Regions from separate parts of the Homo sapiens genome. Here all the other regions are linked to region 1. Evidence: promoter capture Hi-C in 16 types of primary human blood cells and fetal thymus (Javierre and others, 2016). All regions are on one chromosome and are shown on one strand. The core of a region is centred on a gene start or on the middle of the fragment in contact, and the rest is flanking DNA. Distances in the headings are between cores, read along the strand shown. Region 1 holds the start of POGLUT3 (protein O-glucosyltransferase 3). Region 2 overlaps CUL5 (cullin 5). Region 3 has its middle 31 kb from the start of ACAT1. Region 4 overlaps ACAT1 (acetyl-CoA acetyltransferase 1). Region 5 overlaps CUL5 (cullin 5). Region 6 overlaps CUL5 (cullin 5). Region 7 has its middle 9.4 kb from the start of CUL5.

Region 1 (2,700 bases), core at 171-2,670:
CCATTCTGGGGTGTGAGTTCCTTCTGGATCATTCAGCCAGAGGAGAATCTTTATTGGCTTTAAATAAATTCAGATCTATTAACAATCCATTAACAAATTTGTATCCATTAACAAATTGGATAAAATGATCAAAAAAGAGAGGCAGATAGTAACCTTGACAATCTCTTCCTGGATCCAGCGTTCATCTTCTGAGGAGTGGTGGAGGTGGCTGAGACCAACCACGCACCACCACCCCTTCTCCCACTTCGATTACAGAGGCTTTGAGGTAAAGCTCGCACAAGGGCTCAAGGCAAGGCCTGGTCTTCTGCCACCCCAGTGCCCAGCTCCTCACTCTGGGCTTGGCCCAAACTCCGTGGATGTTCTGTAAACACCTGCTGGAAGAAGAGGAGTGCGGGAGGAAGCGGGGAAAGGGATGTGTGGGGTGGGGGGATCACGGTTCTGTGAGGGAGGCTGCTAAGCAGAAAAGCAACAAAACCGGCCACAAGAGAACGGTGCTGCTGTGAACAGAGGGCTGTGAGGGAGGGCGGGGGGCGTGACCTTGGCGCTCATCTTGTAAACTCGGAGACATTCCTTGGGAAAAGATATTTCCCTAAACTACATCGATCTTGGGGCCGGACCCTTTCATCGTCCCACAACAATCACCACCGGGTCTACGTCCTTTAAAAACACCTGAGCGGCGGACCCGGTGGCTCATGCCTGTAATCCCGGCACTTTGGGAAGCCGAGGCGGGCGGATTGCTTGAAACCAGGAGTTCAAGACCACCTTGGGCAACATAGGGAGACCCCGTCTCTACAAATAGTAATAGTAATAATAATAATAATAATAATAATAATAATAATAATAATAAATTAAATTAGCCAGCGTGGTGTCGTGTGCCTACAGTCAGTCCCAGCTACTCGGGAGGCTGAGGCGGGAGGATCTCCTGAGCCCACGAGTTCCAGGCTGCAGTGAGCTGTGGTCGCGCCATTGCACTCCAGCCTAGGCGACAGAGCCAGCCCCCTTGTCTGTATAAAAACAGAGAAAGAAAAGAGAAGAAAGAAGGAAAGGAAGGAAGAAAAAGAAAGGGAAAGACCACTGGAAGTGGAGGCCAGGCGTGCCTGAAGCCTTGGCAATCAACAGCCAGCGCACACTCGCAGCCTCGGTCTCTGGGCGGGCCTCTCCACCCCTTTCCTCCACGGGGCCTATGGGGCTGCGGGGAGGAAGGGGCGCACCCATCGTCGACCCCTACAGGGCGCGCAGTGGGTGATTGCGGCACTGGCTCGCGTTCCCGCCCGAGGGAGACGAGGCGGGACAGCGGGCGGGAAAGGGAGCCTGCGCCGCAATCTTTCCCGCCCGAAAGACCCGCCCCGCGGTGGGCCCCAGTCCCCGCCCGGTCCGCGGCGCTGCCGGCCCCTCCTCGCCGCCGCGGAGCTGGACCGCAGTTGTGCCCCGCCGACCATGCGCCGCCTCCCGCGGGCCCTGCTGCTGCAGCTGCGCCTCGCCCTGCTGGTGGCCGCGGGGGCCCCGGAGGTGCTGGTCAGCGCGCCGCGGAGCCTGGTGTGGGGGCCCGGGCTGCAGGCGGCCGTCGTCCTGCCGGTCCGCTATTTCTACCTGCAGGCGGTCAACTCGGAGGGCCAGAACCTCACTCGCTCTCCCGCAGGTAGTGTCCAGCCGCCGGCCTCCCTCGTCCCGCGGCCGGGTCCCCGCGCGTCCCCGCCGCCCGGGAGTCCGCCCGCGGCCTGCGTGGCGTCCCTCCCCGGCGTGTGTCGCCCCTTTTTGGGTCTGGTCAGCTCCTCTTCCCTCCTCCCGCCCATACTCAAAGCGGGCAAAAATCACCACGAAAGTTTGTGGAATGAATGAATGAATGAACTTGAAGGGCCCTTCCGCATTTAATGTGCAGGGACTGATGTTGCGAATGGACGGCGCCCGGGCGTTACAAGGAGTGTGCCGTGAGTCACACGTTGCCTTCCATCTCGGACTTAGTTGTCTGAACTGTGAGGGATTGCAGGGAGCGCTTTCCAGTGGTGAGTCATCAAGCCGACGGATCGCGTCGGATTACATGGCTTAGGCCTGGTGGGTTTGGAGCAACGAAATCCTACGCAGAGGAAATGTCAGAGCCGTAGGAAGGAGGAGGGGTTTACGTGTTAGTTTTTTGTTTCCTTTTTAGTTCTGAGTTTTTGAAAGCAGATTACAGGAACTAGGGAAACTCAGTAGAAATCATTCGGTTTTCCCTCCACGGAGGGTGAGATGGATCTCGTCCTGAATCCCTTTCTGCCCGGTCCTCCTCCCACGTTGTCCTTCACGTCTTAACCTTTGCAACTTCTTAAAACTTGTCCTGCTGGTTTCACGCTGTTGTCAGTCAGGATTTGCTAATGTATAATTTGGGGCTCTGGCCAACTAGCACCTTGTTGTATCAGCGAAGAGACAATTAGAATAAACCAGTGCCTCTGCCCCTGCTAGTCCAGCTGGGAACATAGCTGCCAGAAGTGTGTCCCAACTTGGGAAAGGGGTAAGGGGGTCTTGACAGCTGGGCAAAGCAGAGAATTTAGGAACCAAACATAATTCACTTTTAGATTTAATGATTTTTAAAATTTCATTCATTCAAGAAATACTTCTTTGATGTCTACTTCTGTGTTTGGTAATTCTGCTGGGAATCTAAGGATGAAAAGACAATGCCTGACCATCAAGGAACTTACAGTCTGTTGGTCAAAGACATGCAAA
Region 2 (2,700 bases), core at 189-2,688, 440 kb after region 1:
AATGCCTGCTATAAAACACAGCAGGCACTCCAATAAGTACCTGTTGAATGAATGAATTCATAGGTCTGGAAAATGAAAGGTGAGACAGGTAGGCTACGAGACATGGTAGATTCTTATTCTTTTTTTTTTTGAGACAGTTTCACTCGTTGCCCAAGCTGGAGTGCAATGGCGCGATCTCACTGCAACCTCCGCCTCCCGGGTTCAAGCGATTCTCCTGCCTCAGCCTCCCGAGTAGCTGAGATTACAGGCACGCACCACCATGCCCGGGTAATTTTTTGTATTTTTAGTAGAAACAGGGCTTTACCATGTTAGCCAGGCTGGTCTTGAACTCCTGACCTCAGGTGATCCACCCGCCTCGGCCTCCTAAAGTGCTGGGATTAGAGGCGTGGGCCACGGCATCCAGCCAGATTCTTCTTTTAGTGGTATTCAATTTGCATAATTATTTCTACCTCGCTCAAATTTCGTTTAAAAAAAAAAGCATTTCTGATTTTCATTAGTTATATAGCTCTGTATAAGGAATAGTTTGCTTTGCCTCAGCTACAACGTAAGAGTTGAACTAAAAATTATCTTAAGTTCCCCCACTTTATGATTCTACTCTATCATTATCAGGCCCTTAACCATACAAGGATATCTGTAATGTATTCAATAATTAATTTCCTGGCCTTTCTAGTTTGACTAAGATTCTTTCTGTACTACTATCATTAGTGGCACTACAAAAGTCTGGATCACCTTGTCTTTTTGAACACCAAGCTTAATTTTTTTTTTTAATTTTAGACCTCCTCTGTGGAGAGGATACCATGCCTGAAATACCAAAATACTGAAGGTTAATAAGTGCTTATTTTAATGTTAATAATTTATAACTTGTGACCTAGTTGCTTATTCAGCTTTTTAAATCAGTTTTGCACAGATGGTAAAATAGTTTTTACTTGTCTTAGAATTAGTAAGCAGTTTTCTCTGAACCAGTGCCTAACAGTAAAAGCTATCATGCCAGGCACAGTGCTCAAATGCTTAATGTAACATATTTCATTTAATTCTGCTAATACAAAAGGGTATTATTCAATTTTTTTTTTTTTTTTAGACAGAGTCTCGCTCTGTCACCCAGGCTGGAGCGCAATGGTGTGATCTCTCCTTACTGCAACCTCCGCCTCCTGGGTTCAAGCGATTCTCCTGCCTCAGCCTCCCGAGTAGCTGAGATTACAGGTGCGTGCCACCACGCCCAACTAATTTTTTTGTATTTTTTTTTTAGTAGAGACAGGGTTTCACCGTGTTGGCCAGGCTGGTCTTGAACTCCTGACCTCATGATCCACCCATCTCGGCCTCCCTAAGTGCTGGGATTGCAGGCGTGAGCCACCGCGCCCGGCCTATTCCATTTTATAGTTAGGAAAAGAGAGACTACAAAGGTTGAATAACTTGCCAAAACGCAGACAGCTGGTAAAATAACATCTGTGGGATTCAAATCCTCATCTAATTCCAACATGTATGACCCTAACCACTGTAATACACTCCCTCCCTATCGGTGCCCTGGTCATTCTGAAGTGATCAAGACTTACACTACCAATTCACTTTTCTATTCCTCTATTGTATAAACAATCCATTTTATTCTAGTGTCATCCTGAGGATAGGGACTAGGTCTATCTTATTATCCCCAACTAGCATAATGCCTGACACACTGTGGGTATATAATAAATACTAATTGAATTTCCCCAGGAAATACTAAGGTATGCAGGACTATCACCTAAAAACTAAAAACCAAACACAAATTTTAAGTCATTTTGGCTTAAAGCTGGGTGTGGTTGCATGCGCCTACTGTCCCAGCAACTCAGGAGGCTGAGGTGGGAAGACTGCTGAAGGCCAGGAATTCGAGAATGCAGTGCACTATGATCAAACCTGTGAACAGCCACTGCACTCCAGCCTGGGCAACATAGCGAGACTCTGCCTCTTAAAACACAAAAGGCATTTGGCTTAATTTTTTTTCTTGCTCTTTTCTTATGGTTGTGTTACTTTTTGCTGTCAACATGCCTGTTCAGCAGCACAGCTCGGAAGCCTCTTACCTTGTTTTACATTAAATACATTCAATACATTTCTGTTCATCTGCTATAGGCCCAGCGAGTGATAATCAAGCTTATTAGAATTGTATGTAAAATCAGATCTAAGTAGGGTCTAAGTGGCTCTCCTATAAGTAAAAATAAAACTGTAAGAGTAGGGCTTCAGACATCTAATGCAACACTTAACTGTCTCAGATCTTCACAAGGCTAGTTCCCTATCATTCAGGTCTTAACTCCAATATCATTCCCTCAGAGATCTTTTCTGACCATATTCCATAAAGTAAAAGCAGCAGGAGAAGCATTACCACCACCAATACACTCTATAGTATTACTCTTACTTCATTTAAAAAAAAAAAAATCACTTTGGGCCGGGTGCAGTGGCTCACGTCTGTAATCCCAGCACTTTGGGAGGCCGCCGCGGGCAGATCACGAAGTCAGGAGATCAAGACCATCCTGGCTAACACGGTGAAACCCTGTCTCTACTAAAAATACAAAAAATTAGCCGGGTGTGGTGGTGGGCACCTGTAGTCCCAGCTACTCGGGAGGCTGAGGCATGAGAATCACATGAACCTGGGAAGCAGAGGTTGCAGTGAGCGGAGACTGCACTACTGCACTCTAGCCTGGGTGACACATCAGGGCTATGTTTCAAAAAAAA
Region 3 (2,700 bases), core at 144-2,643, 350 kb after region 1:
TTTTAGTATTGGGTGTCTGCCTTTTTCTTACTGATTTTTACGTGTTCTTTCTGTATTCTGGATACAGGTCCTTTTTCGGATGGATGTTAGGTGTCTGAGTATTCTCCCTTGTTATTCTTCTGAAAGCGTTATGGTTCAACCTATTTCATTTTGATTTGACCATCTATCTGGAATTGATTTTCCACATTGATATACAATTAACCCACACTATTTATTACCAAAGATTATCCTTTCCCAACTACATTGCACAGTTACTTTTCTCATAAGCTGGTAAATGTGTAGGTTTGTTTCTGGACTCTATGCTGTTCCATTGGTCTGCTTTCTTTAAGATGTGCTAATAACACACTGTCTTAATTAATGTTGAAAATCTTTTTTTTTTTTTTTTTGAGATAGTCTCACTCTGTCGCCCAGGCCAGAGGGCATTGGTGTCATCTCTGGTGACTGTAACCTCCGCCTCCCAGGTTCAAGCAATTCTCCTTCCTGAGCCTCCTCAGTAGCTGGGATTACAGTTGTGCGCCACCACACCCAGTTAATTTTTGTATTTTTAGTAGAGACAGGGTTTCACCATATTGTCCAGGCTGGTCTTGAACTCCTGACCTCAGGTGATTCACCCACCTCAGCCTCCCGAGGTGCTGGGATTACAGGCGTGAGCCACTGTGCCAGTCCCAAAATCTTTTATATTTTAGTTCTATTTATTTTCTATACTGAGTGAAGTCTGTTAGTACTAATGGATTTACCAGTGCTACTTTTTAATTTGTGAAGTATTATCTGTAAATAATTATTTTCCAATTTTATTTATTTTTACTACACTGATATTAGCACTTCCAGTGCAACTAATAATGATCAAAGTCTGCTTCATTGTCTTGTTCCCCATTTTAATGGCAATGTTAGGTATAATGTTTGCTTTTATTAAGTATAATGTTTGCTTTTGTTGGTAGAGTTTTACGATTTTACATCAGAAGTACCTGTTCAACTTAATTGCCACGTTTAAGCATCAATTAAAATATTTTCATTGAACTCATGAATTTCTTTTTATATTAGTGATTATTTTAAGTAAGTTTGCTTTGTGAATATTTTATTTAAATGTTTTTGGTTTTTGTTTTTGAGACAAGGTCTTGCTATATTGCCCAGGCTAGAGTGCAGTGGCTGTTCATGGGCACAGTCATAGCCCACTATAGCCTTGAACTACTGGGCTCAAAGGATCCTCCTGCCTCAACTTCATGAGTAGCTGGGACTACAAGTGCACACCAACACACCCAATGAAAAGTTTACTTTTAATGAGATTGGTTTCAAACTTATGCCAGTTTTTAAAATGAATTTTAAACCTTTCCTTCTTTTTCTAGTTTATTTGAATATTGGGGATAATAAATAGTACCAGTGCTAAAGTGTGAAGTTTAAATTGTACAATATATGTAAAAGCACTTAGATTAATGCCTGGAACATAATAAGCACTTTAAGAACTAGTTGCTATTATAGCTGATGCTGTTTTTTATTTCTTTTTTCTGCAACAGTTTATTTAGAATGAGAAATAACTGTTCCTTGAGACTAAATCACTACTAAATTATCTAGGCCTGGAGCCTTTTGCTTAAGCAGTTTTCCATTTTTTTTTCTCCTAAATTTCTTCCTGGCTGATTATCTATTCAGGCTTTGACCTTTTTTTTCCTGAGTCAAATATCACATTTTTTTTAATTTTGGCTTTTGTTCTCTAAGATACAATTAACTTTTTTCTGTCAAAAACACTTCTTAGATTCAACAGTTGTATAGGAGCCTATTCTTTGTGCTTCCTACTTTCTCAGGGTCCTTTTTGCATGTTTATTTAACTTAAATTAATAAACAGTTATCTGATTTTTTTTTCCCCTTCTTAAACCATGTAAGCATTTAAGGCTGTGAATTTGCTTCTGATTTCAACTTTCAGCAAAATTTGGGTAAGTACTTTTAATATTCATACATAACTATTTACAATAAATGATACCAGGCTCTTTTTTGCCTAAAATTTTTATTATTGTGGTCAGGATAAGTTGCAGGTTTTATAAATGTTGCACGGGGGCTTAGAAATAGGTAATGTTGGCTGGGCATGGTGGCTCACACCTGTAATCCCAGCACTTTGGGAGGCCAAGGCAGGCAGATCACTTGAGCCCAGGAGTTCGAGACCAACCTGGGCAACATGATGAAACCCCCATCTCTACCAAAAATTAGCCAGGCATGGTAGTATGCACCTGTGGTCCTAGCTACCAGGGAGGCTGAGGTGGGTGTATCACTTGAGCCCAGGAAGTCAAGGCTGCAGTGAGATGAGACCATGCCACTGCACTACAACCTGGGCAACAGAGCAAGACCCTATCTCAAAAAAAAAGTTAAAAAAGAAATAGGTATTGTTTAGAAAGGTAAAGTTTGATATGTATTCAGTCTTATACTGTTTGAATCCTGTCTTTGCTTTAATACTTTTTTCACAAGTGTTTGTTTAATCCATGAAACATTATTATCTTGGTCATAGCTTTGGCTTTTTTTCTGCCAAAAAAAAAAGTACAAAGTAGACCATCATAAAAAGTAGTTCTTTCCCCATTTTAACAGTTTCTGCCTTCTCATAATTTATGATACATGCAACCCTTTTTACTTTTTTTTTTTTTTTTTTTTTTTTTTTTTTTTTTTGAGACAGAGTTTCGCTCTTGTTGCCCAGGCTAGAGTGCAGTGGCATGATCTCAG
Region 4 (2,700 bases), core at 102-2,601, 370 kb after region 1:
AATAATATGAACTTTAAGCAAAAGAAGATAAAAGCTCTCTTGAATACTATAAAACAGCACTGTGACAGTTCTCTCCTTACACTTGTCTTCCACAATCTCCTATTAAGTTTAGAGATAAATAACAGAATGGTTGCTTAGATTTTGATAGAAGATCTTAACTAAGTCACTTTAGTGACCCTTACAAAACAGAGACTCTTCAGAAGGTCCTAGGAGATGCTGTAATGGCCCTCCTTGTCTAATTCCCAACTGGTCCACTCCCTCTCTTCTAGGATCTTCTATACAGTCTCTGCTTGTACCACACACAATACAATGCGAGTCCCTGTGAGTAAAAGAAGAACACTGCCCAGTTCTAGAGGGAATGTTGTTTTGTAGCAGACTATAAGGAAGCAACAAACATTGGCAGAGACTAACTGACATGTTTTTCTATTATAGTCATCTACTTTAACTGAATATTTGAATAGTTAGCTATTCCTAACTGTTACATAATCCTGCTTTGACTTTCACATGTATCCAAATCATAAGTATATGCATTTTTATTGACATTTCCTTTAAATTCTGGAAATTTTAAAGCACAATTTAAATTACTTACCTTCAAAGTGGGTTTTGATACATAACTCCGTTCCACATATCTTATTTCCTGTAATATAAATATTTATAATGTTATAATGTAAAAAATATTAAACTATATCATTTTATATTTCTCAGTGATAAGGTTATAGTGGTTTCTTCCTGCATCCTTATGCTTTTATTTCCAAGTTTTTTGTGGTCAGAATATATCACTTTTAACAATTAGAAAAAAATGACTGCTTTATAATAAACTTTTCTAATTAACTATTCATTGGAAATGTACGTTTTAACTCTTAAGTTTACTATCTTAAAATTTCCAAGTCTTGGCCAGGCGTGGTGGCTCATGCCTGTAATCCTAGCATTTTGGGAGGCCAAGGTGGACGGATCACCTGAGGTCAGGAGTTCAAGACCAGCCTGGACAACGTGGTGAGACCCAGTCTCTACTAAAAATACAAAAGTTAGCCCAGCATTGTGGCACATGCCTATAATCCCAGCTACTTCAGAGGCTGAGGCAGGAGAATAGCTTGAACCCAGGAGGCGGAGGTTGCAGTGAGCCAAGATTCTGGGACTACACTCCAGCCTTGGCAACAAAGCAAGACTGTCTAAAAAAAAAAAAAAAAAATTCCAAGTCTTTCTTAAATATAGCTTTCTAAAATGTAGTTTTGAGTTAAAGCTAGGTTCTAAATTATTTAGTCTTAGAATCTAACAAGATATTTTCATTTTTTAAGATTGTTTTCAAGTAAAACTTGCTGTTTCTCCCTATCCACTTCCAACAATTGTCTGATTTATATGAGGCAAACACATCTCATATAAATATGACCTATAATAGCAGATAAATTATTTCTTAAAAAAGGAAAGAGTAAACATCTTGCCCCTACTACTTCTCAGTTCTTTCCACACTTCTTAGGAACAAATGTCAACAGTAGGCTGGGCAAGTGGCTCACGCCTGTAATCCCAACACTTTGGAAGGCTGCGGTGGGCATATCACTGGAGGTCAGGAGTTAGAGATCAGCCTGGCCAACTTGGCGAAAAAACCCCGTCTCTACTAAAAATACAAAAATTAGCCAGGCGTGGTAGCGGGCACCTGTAATCCCAGCCACTCAGGAGGATGAGGCAGAAGAATTGCTTGAACCCAGGAGGCGGAGGTTGCAGTGAGCCAAGATCACGCCACTGCACTCCAGCCTGGGAGACAAGAGTGAAACTCCATAATAAATAGATTAATTAATTAATTCTGACAACGCAGGACACAATTCAGAGACCTACTGATCTGAAATTAGACTATCAGTAGCTGGGCGCAGTGGCTCATGCCTGTAATCCCAGCACTTTGGAGGCCGAGGCGGGTGGATCATGAGGACAGGAGTTCAAGACCAGCCTGACCAACATGGTCAAACCCCGTCTCTACTAGAAATATAAAAGTTAGCTGGGTGTGGTGGTCCATGCATGTAAGCCCAGCTACTCAGGAGTCTGAGGCAGGAGAATCACTTGAACCTGGGAGGCAGAGCTTGCAGTGAGCCAAGATCACGCCACTGTACTCCAGCCTGGGCGACAGAGCGAGTCTCAAAAAATGATAATAAATTTAAAAAATAATAATTTAAAAACTTACAAAAAAAAAAGTTCCTACTTGTAGTAAACATGCCGGTCACTGCCTCTCCAAACACATGTCTTTCTCAAAGGACAACCCTAAGTACTTACAAGGTGACTCCCCTGCCTCTGGCCAGAGCTGATGGGATCAAGAATGGAATGGACTCACCCAAGCTAGGACCCAGAGAGACTGGGTCAGTTGGATGACGGTGGGGACTGGGACTGAAAAGTCAAAAGGGGCTGGAGCTGACCAGCCAATGCCACAGAAAAGCAGCGGTTAGAACAAAGAGAAAAGCCATGAATACACTGAGAAGCAAAAGAATGCAACATATATACTCAGAGACAGGAGAAATAGACCATGGCACACCACAAGAGGCAAAAGATGGCTTTGGTTAGTGATTTTCTAGCTTGGGTTCTGGCAGGGTCAGTTGCAATTTATTTTGTTTGAAAATTTTCATATATAAAAATAAAAAATAAACCAGAACTCCTGGACTCAAGCAATCCTCCTGCCTCAGCCTCCCAAGTATCTGCGACTACAGGCACACATCCCTG
Region 5 (2,700 bases), core at 45-2,544, 470 kb after region 1:
CTAGAATTTAAAAGGCCTATCAGAAAATAAAAACTTGAAGTCATCAGAATACAGATGGGTTTTAAAACCTGTTATTGGATGAGATCACTGTGAGAGAAGTGATACATAAAGATGGAGACCCAAGCCTGAGGTTTTAGATATCCAACATTAAGAGGCGGAGAGAGGAGTAAGAACTAGCAAAGGAGACAAAGAGAGCAACCAGAGCACAGGTGGCAAGAAAACCAAGAGTATGGTATTCTGGACAAAAAGTAAATAAAGTGTGTCAGAAAGACAGAATAATCAATTTTAAGAATTTCTCCTGACAGATCAGGTAAGATAACCACTGAAACAGCAATATGGAAGTTACTGAAACTTTGTCCACAGAAGTTTTTGCAGAGTAGTAAGGACAAATACCAGATTAGAGTGGAATGAAGAGTGGAATTAAGAGAAACGAGGAGCCAGGCGCAATAGTTCATGCTTGTAATCCCAACACTGGGAGGCTGAGGCGGGCGGGTCACTTGAGCCCAGGAGTTCGAGACCAGCCTGGGCAACATGGAAAAAGCCTGTCTCTACTAAAAATACAAAAAATTTGGCTGGGCACGGTGGCTCACACATGTAATCCCAGCACTTTGGGAGGCCGGGGTGGGTGGATGACTTGACATCAGGAGTTCGAGACCAGCCTGACCTACATGGTGAAACCCTGTCTCTACTGAAAATACAAAAATCAGCTGGGTGTGGTGGTAGGCCCCAGTAATCCCGGCTACTCAGGAGGCTGAGGTGGGAGAATTGCTTGAACCTGGGAGGCGGAGTTTGCAGTGAGCCAAGATTGTGCCACTGCACTCCAGCCTGGACAGCAGGGGGAGACTGTCTCAAAGAAAAAAAAAAAAAATTAGCTGGGCATGGTGGCGCCTATAATCCCAGCTACTAAGGCCTGGAGGCGGAGGTTGCAGTGAGCCATGATGGCGCCACTGCACTCCAGCCTAGGCGACAGCGACAGTGAGACCCTATCTCAAAAAACAAATAGTAAATAAAAACAAAAATAAATAAGAAGAAAACTAGAAAGAGTACAGACAACCCTTCACAATTTTTCCTGTATAAGAGAGTAAAGAAATGGCATGGTAATTGATAGGGTGAGAGGAAGTGAAAAAATAATAATTTTTTTTTTTTTTTTTTTGAGACGGAGTCTCACTCTGTCTTTCAGGCTGGAGTGCAGTGGCGTGATCTCTGCTCACTGCAACCTCCGCCTCCCAAGTTCAAGTGGTTTTCCTGCCTCAGCCTCCCGAGTAGCTGGGAATACAGGTGCCCGCCACCATGCCCAGCCAATTTTTCTATTTTTAGTAGAGATGGGGTTTCGCCACATTGGCCAGGGTGGTCTCGAACTCCTGACCTCGTGATCCGCCCACCTCAGCCTCCCAAAGTGCTGGGATTACAAACGTGAGCCACTGCGCCTGGCCAAATAATTTTTTAAAGCTAGGATACAGTATGATTGTATGCTGACAGGAACATTCCAGGATATGAAATGTTGATGATGTGGGGAAAGGGAGAGAAACTGCTAGTGAATTTAAATTGCACTGGATAGGCAAGAGGGAATGGGATCTAGCGCATATGTGGAGGAAGTGACTACAGGCTAAGAGGAGAAGGCAAAAGAATGTACATGTAGGTGCTGGTACAAGGATAGATGTCGTACGACTCTGAGAAGTTCATATTTTATTGCTTTAATTTCCCAGTGATGTGGAAATAACGACAATGTCTGAGAAGATCGGGGAGGAAATGTTAGAATGTTGACAGAAAAGATGTGAAAAATACATCTAGGAAAGTGGAAGAATAAGTGACTCTGGAAATGCAGTATGACTGGCCTCATTGTGGTCATGGATTTAAGGTGCAAATAGCACGGTTGTGTCTTTTTCTCGAGTGACATTCAGCTGCACAGGTACTGGCACTGAAAAGTGAAGAGACAGATTTAACCAGGGTTGTACACTTTTCCCAAGCAGAACAAGACAGGGGCAAGGAAGCAAAAAGTGTATTGAAGGGAACAACTATAATGATTGAGAAGAGAATTTATGTTGGGTAAGGCGGAGAAAATGGACTTCAAGGTGAAAAGAGAAAGAGACTTCTGCTTCCCATCATGACAGAATAACAGGAACCAGATTTTCCCTCCTGCCTAAACAAACTAGAAAACCAAAAGCAGTGCAGGACAGCGCTTCCTGAGAAAAGAAAAACAAATGAGGTGAGCGCTACAAATGTCCAAACATACTGCCTAGAGAGTGTCTCCAGGCCTCATCACAAGGAGGGGAAACCCAAACAGCCGCTAGGGGTTTCACTACATTTAAGAGGCAGAGTTCAGAGTTTGAAAAGGCTGAGGTGACTAGAATTTGTGGCATCAAGGGAGCTCTGGGTATCTATACAGAAGGTCCCTGAGGCCTGTGGCTGAGTACTAACCTGTACCTGGGTGTGAGAAAACTGTAAGAGACTGGGGAAAGAACCATTAGGAAGGAATGGGAATGGGCAGAACAATCAGCAGAGTGCACACAGGGCCAGAAACAGTTAGTGTTGCTACCAGCCAGAGTGGAAACACCCTTTAAAGTGCCAGGCATTGGGTAGAGTCCACAGAAAGTTATTGAGTCTATAGTGGAGCCAAAGTAGCCCTACCCCGAGTGATATTCTGGACACACTCTAACGAAACTTAAAGGTAAGCTTCAAAAGGATCAAACTGATTCCAAG
Region 6 (2,700 bases), core at 186-2,685, 410 kb after region 1:
GGCATGCGCCTGTAATCCCAGCTACTCAGGAGGCTGAGGCAGGAAAATCGCTTGAACCTGGGTGGCAGAAGTTGCAGTGAGCCAAGATCGCACCACTGCACTCCAGCCTGGGCAACAAAGTGAGACTCTGTCTCAAAAAAATATAAAAAATAAAAATAAAAATAAAATATACAGTGTAATGAAGTTTAGTATATCTACAGAACTGTGCAACCATCACCACTATCTAATTTTAGAACATTTTCATCACCCCAAAAAGAAACCCCATACTATTTACAGTCACTCGTCATTTCCCCTCCTGGCCCCAACTCCTGGAATTTGTGGATTTGCCTATTCTGGACACTTCACATTAGTGGAATCATACGATATGGTCTTTGGGATTGGCTTCTTTCACTCAGCATTATGTTTTCAAAGTTCACCTAATATTGCAGCATGTATTATTAGTTTATTCCTTTTTATCACAAAAAATATTCCATTGTATGGATAAATCACATTTTATTCATTAGCTCACTGACATTTTGGGTTGTTTCCACTTTTTGACTATTATTAGTAATCTTGCCATGAACATTTGTTTACAAGTTTTTACATGAAACATGTTTTCATTTCTCTTCAAATGAATTACCTAAGAGTGAAATTGCTGGGTCAGCTCTACGTTCAACATTTTAAGGAACTGCCCAACAGTTTTCCAAAGTGTCTGCACCATCTTATGTCTCCACTAGCAACTTACGAAGGTTCCAATTTCTCCTCTTCCTTACTAGCATTTGTTATCATCTGTCTTTATTTTAGCTACCCTAGTGGGAATAAAGTAGTATCTCTTTGTGTTTTTTTTGTTTTTGAGAAAGGGTCTCACTCTGTTGCCCAGGCTGCAGTGCAGTGGCACAATCTCAGCTCATTACAACTTTGAACTTCTGGGCTCAAGCAATCATCCCATCTCAGCCTCCTGAGTAGCTAGAACCACAGGCACACATCACCATGCCTAGCTGATTTCTGTATTTTTTGTAGACATGGAGTATTGTTATTTTGCCCAGGGTAGTTTCTAACTCCTGGCTTCATGCAATCCTCCCACCTCAGCCTTTCAAAATATTTGGGATAAGCAGGAGCCAACATGTTGAGCATTTCACTTGCATTTCACTAATGACTAATGATGTTGAGTATCTTTGCATGCACTTATTGGCCATCTGTCTATCTTCTGTGAAGAGATGTCAATTCGAATCCTTTGCCTGCTTTTAATTATTTGTCGTGTGTGTGTGTGTGTGTGTGTGTGTGTGTGTGTGTGAGTGAGAGAGACAGGATCTGACTCTGTTGCTCAGGCAGGAGTACAGTGGTAAGATCTCTGTTCAATGCAACCTCCACCTCACAGGCTCAGGCGATCCTCCCACCTCAGCCTCCCAAGCAGCTGGGACTAAGGTGCATGCCATCACACCCAGCTAATTTTTTAAATTTTTGTAGAGATGGGGTTTCACCACGTTGCCCAGGCTCATCTCAAACTCTGAGCACAAGCCATCTGCCCTCCTCAGCCTCCCAAAGTGCTGGGATTACAGGTGTGAGCCACCATGCCTAGCCTTGTTTGTCATTTTACTGTTGGGTCTTGATATTTTTTTTTTAACAAAGAAATAACATAGGCCGGGTGTGGTGGCTCACGCCTGTAATCTCAGTACTTTGGGAGGCCGAGGCAGGCGGATCACTTAAGACCAGGATTTCAAGACCAGCCTGGCCAACATGCAAAACCGTGTCTCTACTAAAAATACAAAAATTAGCCAGGCGTCATGGCACAAACCTGTAGTCCCAGCTACTTAGGAGGCTGAGACAGGAGAATTGCTTGAATCTGGGAGACAGAGGTTTCAGTGAGTCAAGATTGCACCACTGCAATCCAGCCTGGGTAACACAGCAAGACTACATCTCCAAAAAAAAGAAAAAAAGAAAGAAAGAAAGAAAATTTAATTCTAAAGGTTTCTCGTAGTAAATATGTATTAGTTTTGCTATTTTCCCCTTTTTCCTATATACTTATAAGTGACAGTAAGAGTTTTGAGTCTTTTGACAATAGTTTTAAAAAGTCACAGAATAATCATTCTTTTTCCTACTAAGCAGTTTCAGTTAGCACAGTAATTTTTACTATCCTAAAGTTCCATGCGAAGGGCTAGCTATAAGTTAAAATATCTGTAGGTCTCTCTCGTGTGTGCTTGCTCGCACTCTCTCTCTCTCCATATATATGTGGAGAGAGTTATATACATACACAGAAATTAAAGATATTTACTTTAATAATTAAAACAAAAAAAGAACTCAAAATACTTTATATGGGAATTTAGTTATAATCAGCATTGATTACCCTAAATAGGCCATCATTTAAAGGTTCTTTTTGCTATACAGAAGTATTTATTGTTATCATTTATAAACATCTCTAAAGTTAAGCATTTAGTACTGAAAATACCTTAAAGATATAATAATTTGTCCTGCAGTCTATTTATTTATTTTATTTTTCTTGAGATGGAGTCTTGCTCTGTCACCCAGGCTGGAGTTCAGTGGCTCGATTTCAGCTCACTGCAAGCTCCGCCCCCCAGGGTTCATGCCATTCTCCTGCCTCAGCCTCCCAAGTAGCTGGGACTACAGGCCCCCCACCACCACGCCTCGTTAATTTTTTTGTATTTTTAATAGAGACTGGGTTTCACTGTGTTAGCCAGGATGGTCTCGATCTCCTGACCTTGT
Region 7 (2,700 bases), core at 141-2,640, 500 kb after region 1:
GCAACCTCCCACTCCTGGGTTCAAGCGATTCTCCAGCCTCAGCCTCCCAAGTACCTGGGATTACAGGTGCGTGCCACCATGCCCAGCTAATTTTATATTTTTAGCATAGATGGGGTTTCGCCACGTTGGCCAGGCTGGTTCAAACCCCTGACCTCAGGTGGTCTGCCCACCTCAGCATCCCAAAGTGCTGGGATTATAGGCAGGAGTCACCACAGTCAGCCACAAATGGATATTTTAACCAACCCGATGGGCTGACCAACTTGCACCCTGTGGATTTGCTTAGGGCCGGTTTATCTTCCACTGTATTAGCTAGTGTTGTTGATGGATGTAACTGGGACTAGATGCAGGTCTTCCAAATTGTGATCCAAGGCTTTTCCTGCCTGAAGGATGGTTTCAGAGAATAAAATCAAAGAAAACAGCGACCAAAATGCTCAGGGCATGCTTCTCTTGTCCTGTGAGGTGGACCCTTCACTTCTGAACCTTCACTTCACCTTTCCTGTGGCTGCCTCCGACCCTGGTTCCTCTGTGCCCCTGTCTACAACTGTGGACTCGCTCCCACAATGTACCCTGACTCTTCACATGGGGCAGGTGGTTAACCTGAGATGGTTCTAGGTTTTCTGATGTTTTTACTGGATGTGTTTTCTTATCCTCTAGACCTGTTTGCTCCAGTGACTAAGTCAAGCTCACCCCTCTCCTTTCCTCTGTCAGTAAATAGATTTTCCAGCCGCTGGAAACTCTCCTTGGAAAGAATGCAAGTCTGAGGTTTTCAACTCCAGGCTCCTTAACCTCCCACTTTGGTGCCCCCTCAGTGGCCACGGTTGGGTTTGCAGCAGCTGGGATGGGTGGTGTTCAAAACTCTATTTCAACAGCTACCCCCAGTGGAATATCAGTTAACTACACTGGCAAGAGCTACCTGAGATCAGGTTGACTTGGCTTAAGGAGAATTTCAGACAGACCCTCAAAGAAACACACGTACACAACACACATATACCAACACTTCTGATACTTGTTTCATTATCCATAACTGTTCACTTTTTAAATACCAGAAAAGACAAACAATTTATCTTGTCTAAGTGGCACTAAGTAGAAGAAACAAAAATGAGCAGCCGTTGGAGAATTATGACACTTTTTATTAATGCTATCATTTGGGAGACTTCATCTAACTAGAATTTTATTTTTAAATTTTATAATAATACTTTTTATTTATGCTACTATTACTTAAAAGCCTTATCTAACTTTATTTTTATGTTATTTATTTATTTATTTATTTATTTTGAGATGGAGTCTCACTCTGTCACCCAGGCTGGATTGCAATGGCGCAATCTCGGCTCACTGCAACCTCTGCCTCCTGGGTTCAAGCGATTCTCCTGCCTCAGCCTCCTGAGTAACTGGGATTACAGGCACACCACCACGCCCAGCTAATGGGGTTTCACCATGTTGGTCAGGCTGGTCTCGAACTCCTGACCTCGTGATCTGCCTGCCTCAGACTCCTAAAGGGCTGGGATTACAGGCGTGAGCCACCGGGCCTGGCATAACTTATTTTTAAATATGCTCAGTTCAGACAATTAACAAGATAAAAATGAACCATTTGAAAATAAGATTTTAGTAATGTAATTTACAGATTTACTTTTTACATGAAATTCAATTTCTTAATTGATTCATATCTGAAGTAAATTGTCAGAGTATTTTTGCTGTGCCAAAGCTATCTAATAGTTATAGTATAAAGGATGCATTGTGCTATACTTTTGCTTAGTAAACTACTTATTACTTATAAAATCAAAATACTGCAAGACTTCACAAGTCTAGGCAATGAGGTCACATCAACTTTTTTTTTTTTTTTTTTTTTTGAGATAGAGTCTTGGTCTGTTGCCCAGGCTGGAATGCAGCAGTGCAATCTTGGCTAACCGCAACCTCTGCCTCCAGGGTTCAAGTAATTCTCCTGCCTCAGCCTCCCTAGTAGCTGGGATTACAGGCGTGCGCCACCACGCCAAACTAATTTTTGTATTTTTAGTAGAGACAGCGTTCCACCATGTTGGCCTGGCTGGTCTCGAACTCCCGACCTCAAGTGATCCACCTACCTCGGACTCCTAAACTGCTGGGATTATAGGCATGAGCCACTGCTCCTGGCCCACATCGACATTAATACCTAAATTTTGCTGCTCCTTTTACTAGCCTCCACTTCCCCTATCACTTTTAAATTTTGTTTTATTTTGTTAGTCTCCAAGGCATGCTTCAAAATGCTCAGGATCAATTCTGCTTATGTTGTTCTGCTCCATTGAGCTCCATAATTTAGTCAGCTATCTAAAATATATTGGTGATTTCAAAAAATATAATTAGAAATGCTAATTATGAGCCAATTGAGAATATGCATAAGGGAACAAACAGGGCTTAAAATATTTACATTGTGGTAGTAAAGCTGTATTGTAGATTGCATCTTGAAAGGTCAAGTGGTTTTTTTTTTGTTTGTTTTTTTTTTTTGAGAGAGGGTCTAGCTTTGTTGCCCAGGCCAGAGTGCAGTTGGGGAGATCACAGCTCACCGCAACCTCAGCTTCCTGGGCTCAATCGTTCCTCCCACCTCAGCCTTCCTGAGCATCCTGGCTAATTTTTTGCTTTTTTTGTAGAGATGGGGTTTCACTGTGTGGCCCAGGCTTGTCTCAAACTCCTGGACTCAAGTTATCCACCACCTTGGCTTCCCAAAGT

Evidence for each region. The method cuts DNA at HindIII sites, captures the fragments that hold promoters and counts their contacts. A CHiCAGO score of 5 or more calls a contact.
Region 2: a contact is called between a fragment that was not itself captured here and the fragment with the promoter of POGLUT3 in region 1, in 5 of 17 cell types (total CD4 T cells, non-activated CD4 T cells, total CD8 T cells and 2 more). The highest score is 8.3, in total CD4 T cells.
Region 3: a contact is called between a fragment that was not itself captured here and the fragment with the promoter of POGLUT3 in region 1, in 4 of 17 cell types (naive CD4 T cells, naive CD8 T cells, total CD4 T cells and 1 more). The highest score is 6.7, in naive CD4 T cells.
Region 4: a contact is called between a fragment that was not itself captured here and the fragment with the promoter of POGLUT3 in region 1, in 5 of 17 cell types (naive CD4 T cells, non-activated CD4 T cells, total CD4 T cells and 2 more). The highest score is 8.0, in naive CD4 T cells.
Region 5: a fragment that was not itself captured here is called in contact with the fragment with the promoter of POGLUT3 in region 1 in 5 of 17 cell types (total CD4 T cells, fetal thymus, naive CD4 T cells and 2 more); the score reaches 10.8 in total CD4 T cells.
Region 6: a contact is called between a fragment that was not itself captured here and the fragment with the promoter of POGLUT3 in region 1, in 5 of 17 cell types (total CD4 T cells, non-activated CD4 T cells, naive CD4 T cells and 2 more). The highest score is 7.1, in total CD4 T cells.
Region 7: a fragment that was not itself captured here is called in contact with the fragment with the promoter of POGLUT3 in region 1 in 4 of 17 cell types (fetal thymus, naive CD8 T cells, non-activated CD4 T cells and 1 more); the score reaches 6.4 in fetal thymus.

What each region holds. Positions count from the first base shown.
Region 1 is chr11:108,497,104-108,499,803 of GRCh38, reverse strand. POGLUT3 (protein O-glucosyltransferase 3) reads left to right here and starts at 1,420. Exons shown (of 8, transcript NM_153705.5): 1 at 1,420-1,639. The coding sequence starts at 1,438. LOC112267909 (a long non-coding RNA gene) reads right to left here and starts at 743. Exons shown (of 3, transcript XR_007062880.1): 1 at 154-743. RefSeq lists a silencer at 1,268-1,787. The HindIII fragment of the contact is 8,220 bases long and covers 1-2,700 here.
Region 2 is chr11:108,058,259-108,060,958 of GRCh38, reverse strand. The region is part of intron 7 of CUL5 (cullin 5); the gene reads right to left. Among named protein-coding and RNA genes, the nearest start is that of CUL5, 51 kb to the right of the region's middle. The HindIII fragment of the contact is 1,371 bases long and covers 753-2,123 here.
Region 3 is chr11:108,151,578-108,154,277 of GRCh38, reverse strand. No RefSeq gene overlaps it. Among named protein-coding and RNA genes, the nearest start is that of ACAT1, 31 kb to the right of the region's middle. The HindIII fragment of the contact is 5,634 bases long and covers 1-2,700 here.
Region 4 is chr11:108,129,844-108,132,543 of GRCh38, reverse strand. ACAT1 (acetyl-CoA acetyltransferase 1) reads right to left here. Exons shown (of 12, transcript NM_000019.4): 2 at 590-637. Among named protein-coding and RNA genes, the nearest start is that of ACAT1, 9.6 kb to the right of the region's middle. The HindIII fragment of the contact is 4,754 bases long and covers 1-2,700 here.
Region 5 is chr11:108,025,442-108,028,141 of GRCh38, reverse strand. All of the region lies in intron 1 of CUL5 (cullin 5), which reads right to left. Among named protein-coding and RNA genes, the nearest start is that of CUL5, 18 kb to the right of the region's middle. RefSeq lists an enhancer at 2,122-2,221. The HindIII fragment of the contact is 2,762 bases long and covers 1-2,675 here.
Region 6 is chr11:108,090,269-108,092,968 of GRCh38, reverse strand. All of the region lies in intron 13 of CUL5 (cullin 5), which reads right to left. Among named protein-coding and RNA genes, the nearest start is that of ACAT1, 30 kb to the left of the region's middle. The HindIII fragment of the contact is 5,776 bases long and covers 1-2,700 here.
Region 7 is chr11:107,998,114-108,000,813 of GRCh38, reverse strand. No RefSeq gene overlaps it. Among named protein-coding and RNA genes, the nearest start is that of CUL5, 9.4 kb to the left of the region's middle. The HindIII fragment of the contact is 4,041 bases long and covers 1-2,700 here.